2 separate regions of the Homo sapiens genome follow, and region 2 is linked to region 1. The links are contacts of gene promoters, found by promoter capture Hi-C in blood cells and fetal thymus (Javierre and others, 2016). All regions are on one chromosome and are shown on one strand. Each heading gives the region's core, a stretch centred on a gene start or on the middle of the fragment in contact. The rest is flanking DNA. Distances are from core to core; before and after follow the strand shown.

The links. The method cuts DNA at HindIII sites, captures the fragments that hold promoters and counts their contacts. A CHiCAGO score of 5 or more calls a contact.
Region 2: a contact is called between a fragment that was not itself captured here and the fragment with the promoter of LCE6A in region 1, in 1 of 17 cell types (M0 macrophages). The highest score is 5.4, in M0 macrophages.

The regions. Positions count from the first base shown.
Region 1 is chr1:152,841,539-152,844,238 of GRCh38, forward strand. LCE6A (late cornified envelope 6A) reads left to right here and starts at 1,318. Exons shown (of 2, transcript NM_001128600.2): 1 at 1,318-1,473; 2 at 1,962-2,445. The coding sequence starts at 1,983. The coding sequence ends at 2,225. The HindIII fragment of the contact is 3,660 bases long and covers 1-2,700 here.
Region 2 is chr1:152,645,831-152,648,530 of GRCh38, forward strand. No RefSeq gene overlaps it. Among named protein-coding and RNA genes, the nearest start is that of LINC00302, 8.3 kb to the right of the region's middle. The HindIII fragment of the contact is 1,192 bases long and covers 781-1,972 here.

The sequences.
Region 1 (2,700 bases), core at 68-2,567:
TATTTTCCACCCTGGTCTTCATACCCTCTCCCATACCCCAACCCTACTCACCTTTGTCCTATACATGATTTGAAGGCCTTTGAGGACTGCCCCTACAGTCAGAATGTTCCTTGTAATTGCTCATCTTTTTATTTACCCAACTGTTTCCTGAATACCTACTGTGTGTCAGGCATCAGAAATACAGAGGCAGGTGAGGCACACTCTTGAGCAGCAGGGAGTTTCATCAGTGCCTTTTAACTTAGCTGGGCACACCAGGAGCGATTCTGAGATGGAAGCATCCAGAGGTGAGGGACTGTGTTTAGAGAATGTTCCCAATTTAAGCACTGCCAAAACATGATTATCTCAATTTTCATGAAAGCTAAAGAAGAACTTTTCACTCTGTGGAAGGCTTTTCCACAATGTCCCTTGATAATTCCAAGAACAGCTCCCCTTTTGCATTTAAGAGACAGCAGGTGTGTGAAGGTTTTGCTTCCCACCCTCTGCTCAGCCTATTGTGTAAGGTGAGGTCCACCCACAGAGTTCCCTGTAGTATTTATGAAAGGGTGTTCACAAATGCCTTAGGGGAGAATGATGGAAACAAGAAGTCAAGGTCTCGTCCACAAAACAAAATGAGTTGGGCTTTATTTTATTCCTGTTTTTTTCTCCTGAAACACAAAGTCTTTTCTAATGGCACATAGACTGTTTCATTCAACAAATACTAATGAGTATTTTCTTTGTGTCAGGAACAACATCAGGCTCTAGGAATGCAGAAGTGATAAAGGCACTGTCATCAAATAACAGTTTAATAGGTGAGATAGGATATGTATCTTGGTCACACGACCCAAAGCAATAGTAAAGGCTGTGACATGTATCTATAAAGGTCAGAGGATGAAGGACTCATGTGTGGCTAGAGCAATGGGCCAATCTCCACAGAGGTGATGACACGGAATGGGATGCTGACAGTCATGGATGATGGGTGGGGAGTAGACAAGGAAGGTCTTCCTCAGACCCTGGGTGATGTCGAACCTGATTTTTCCCTCCAATCCTACATAGAATTCAACAGCAGCTGCAACCCGCCCAGCCTCCCAAGGACATCATCCAGATTAGCCAGTGTACCCACTTCTGCGTAGGCCAATCTGAAGGCCCCAGCCTTCTGCTCACTCACGCACCTGCAGATGCCTTTGAACCACATCCCAGCTACATGTAGCTGAGGAATCTAGCACTGGGAATTGTGAAATACCCAGATCAATCATCCACTCCATGGCTCTCCTCCAATGACATGTGGCCTGGAGGCTTCAACTGGAGGATATATAAAAGAGCCTCTTACTTCCTGGCAACACAAGGCCTCCAGACTCCTCCTGGGATAACTTGTCCACACATCTTCCACTAGGGTAAGGCTACTTCTGGCTGAGGAGACACTTGGATGTAGCTCAAGTGCTGCTTAGGCAGTCCTGATCTCTCCTCTCGTCTCTTCCCAGGGAGCTGAAAAGCCAGGTAGGAGATGCTTGGGGTAGAAAGAAGGGAAGAGAAGTGGATCCCTGCAAAAGAAAGACCCCAAATAATCTAACATGGGAGAAAGCCATAGAAGTTAGAGGGCCAGAAAAGCAGAGATGGGACAGTCAGACTTAGGAGTCTGGGGACAGAATAAGACAGAGTAAAGAAAGAGCAGAGACTTGGCTCTCCTTTGCACTTAACCAGGTGGACATTGGGCTGGGAAAAGTAAACTGTCAGCTCAACTAAGTACAATTTGTCTTTTTTTTTTTTTAAGGAAGCATATATCATTAACATGGTTATTAGTAAGTGAGTCCCCTGGGAAGATTTACTCCCAAATATTTAGTCCTTTCAAGTCCGTTTTTCTCCTCCTGAGATGGAGTTCAGTGGGTTGTAAATGCTGGACTTCATTTTTGACAGCTCCAGTTTGTGGAGGAGAGAAACAGAAGCCCAAGCTGCCTGGGTCCCTGATATAACTATTTTTCTTCCAGATTCGACCTGGTAGCCAAGCAATGTCACAGCAGAAGCAGCAATCTTGGAAGCCTCCAAATGTTCCCAAATGCTCCCCTCCCCAAAGATCAAACCCCTGCCTAGCTCCCTACTCGACTCCTTGTGGTGCTCCCCATTCAGAAGGTTGTCATTCCAGTTCCCAAAGGCCTGAGGTTCAGAAGCCTAGGAGGGCTCGTCAAAAGCTGCGCTGCCTAAGTAGGGGCACAACCTACCACTGCAAAGAGGAAGAGTGTGAAGGCGACTGAGCCCAGAAGAGTTGAGGCACAGGTGCAGTTACTCTCTCCCTGCCCCACCTTTGGGTACTAATTCCCCCTTGGAAAGCCAGGCCCTCAACCTCTCATTTGGACTGAGAAACACTTCCTGATCCCCAGCTCTAGAGAAGCGAGAACTAGGCTGAGCCACGCTGCTACTGCTCTCTTCCATTCACCCCTTCAGCTCAGCAACAATAAAGCTGCTTTACTTGGAGCCCTGACTTCTGTGAGTTCTTGAGACCCCTGCTCAGATGTACTGAGACCCCCGCTTCAACCCAAGTGCATGGTGCTTCTCCTCCTTCCTCTTAAGACAGCTGATAGTATTTTTAAGAAGCAGATGTTCTGGGATTTATGTCCCAGTTTCCAGCAGCCTCACAGCCATCAACCCATGTCATTGCATGATTCTAGCACCAAAGACTACAATAAACATATGTTGAGCACCTACTGTGTACTGGCCTCTGTGTTTACA
Region 2 (2,700 bases), core at 127-2,626, 200 kb before region 1:
CCCTCAGCTGTCCTCTGAGGAGCAGCTGTGCTATTCTGATTTATTTTACTTGTGAGGATAGTGATGACTGAGCTGATTTAGTCAAAACAATTAACTCTTTCTTAATTTGGCAAGAGGAAGGCAGGCTATAGAGGTCATGTCTCTGTAACTATAGTCAGGAAACCTGGTGTCAATTCTAGCTGTAACTCGTGACCTTTGAAATATCACTCATGTTTCCTAGGCATCTGTGTTCTTTTTAAAATGATCAATGAGTACCCTAATACTCATTGATTTGAACATTAAGAAATGAAAATATGTAGCATGTGTTTTGTACGTAGAAGATGCTCAATAATGCATGCTAAAACAAATTGACAGCATCTAGGCCTTATGGGGGGTTGAAAGATGGTCACTTACGGTTGCTACTTTTAAGGAGCTTATCCCTAAACTCTAACAAGTGGCCTGAGAAGGGCTTGCCATCCTGGGGAGCTTCTAAATCTGGAGTCCAGTTATCCCTGGGAATGAGGAATGGGAGATGACATTGACTGAGGGATTGAGTACACTTGACATTGAAAAATCAGGGAAGAGTTGGGTTAGACAGATTTTTTCATTTATTGAAGGCAGTCATTGTACCATTCATTGTTTGAGGAGCAGAATAAAGCTGTGAACTAAATGGCAGTGGCCACTCCCTCACTGAGGTTCCCAAATAAGGAGAAACATATGACCTCTAAAAGTCTCTTTTAGAGGTGCTCCATTCTCTATTTATTTATTACCTATTTTCAGACAAGGTCCCTACCCTCCACAAGCTTTCAGGCCAAATGTAAAATAGATTTAAAAAATGAACAAAGTGTTTGGTTAAATGGACATTCATTTAGCACACCAGATGAGGTCTGTGGACATCAGTCTGGAATTTGGGATTTGGATGTGAATCAGACACAACCTCTAACCTTGAGAAGCTCACAGTCCACTAGAATCTCTGAAGCACTTCTTTGCATGAGAAAAGCCCATGAGGTCCAAAGCAGGTGGCTCTGAATTTCATCTCCTGAATCACTACTTTGCAATGAGATATGTGAGATACTTTCATTAGTCCAAATTTTTCTTTGGTGTTGTCAGCCTGAGTTTCCTCATTCTCTGTGAAGAGATGTTTGTAGCAACCATGATGGAGTGAGAGGCAGGACTGAAGTGTATGGGCATTTACATGTGGTGTGTGTGTGTGTGCATCCATCATCCATGCATGTACACACACACACACACACACACACACACACTTATATACTTAATTGGCGGTGGGTACAAAAGCACAAAAAAGCCAATTCCCCTGGTTTTTGGTGGCAGGGGATAGAGAAGCACTTCATTACACTCACCGGTGTCCAAGTATTTAGTGTGCCTTCTCACTGTTCCATGTACTGAAATGCATATGAAACAGCATACTATTTCACAAAGTTGTCCCTACTCCATAAGATTTCTTACTAGTATTTTAAAACATTATAAGATATGTGTGTTTATTTCTATAATTCTGATCCTATCAGAATGTGAGAGCTGCTGAGTAAAGAAACCCTGTTTTCATCCTCTTGGGTCCCCGTAAAGTGGTTGTTCAAATAAATAAATAATTATGTTAGATGGATGAGTAAATAATGATGAATGCCAGGGTGATGATTTCAGAAGTTTATCTCCAAGTCCCTTTAGACTGGGAATCAATAACCTCCAAGGTGGTATCTCTAAATGTCTCCAGAACCTCTTCATTCATCAGAAGGTCTTGCTAGGACCTCAAATCTACACCCCTCCCAATATTTGTTCTCTTTCCACCATATGATTATTTCTCTGGTCAAGACATTTGATATCTGGTCAAGACATTTGGTATAATCTTTGATCTATCCCTTTTCCCCATCACATATACACAAAGGGACATCCAGTCTTGTAGATTCTTTTGAAAAAACTCTCTTAAAGTTTTCTATCCTCTCTTTCCTATTTGTCTCATCTAAGCCCCACCTCACAAAGCTTGGCAAGAAAGATGTGACCACCTATTTCATGAGAAGGGACTGGCACGCAGCGACCCAGGCCTTAGAGCCTCAGCCCAGTGACCAGGTTCTTGGGATCTCAGGCTATCTGAGGCTTATATTTGGGAAAGGGTGTGGCTCGTTGAAGGCCCACAGGTCTTGGGCCCCATTGAGAGGCTGGAGTGCTCCTACAGCTCTTTTGGAAGGAGAATGTCAGGAATGGCCCTAAGTGTTCCTTGGTTGTGAGAGATTTTCTCCTGCTCTTTCCAGAGACAAGGCTCATTTCTGAGCCCAGCCTGGGGACTCCTCCTATGAAAGGTGTCCCTGGTTCTTCTTCTTCCTCCTTTTGGACACCTCTGCAGCCTGAGCTAATTCTGAGACTCATCCTGGTAAGTGTGTCTGTGCAAAACCAAAGGACATCTCTGGATTTGGCAGTTTTGTGGTTTTCAGATGTTTACTCTAAGCATTCTTGTACATGTCTTCTAGGAGCAGAATTGCTGAATCTTGGTGTATTTAGTAGCTAAGAATTTAAATTTATAATGGAGAGCTAATCTGTTTTTCAAAATGATTGAATTTTTATGCCCAATATCCTTAAATAAATTTGAAACGATCTACTCCTTTATAGTTTTGTACTGTTCGCCTAGAAAACAATTTTGGCCATTGTTTTCTATGTTTCTTAATAGTACTTTAGTTTCTCAACTAGTTATAAGAGAATTCATACTTTTTG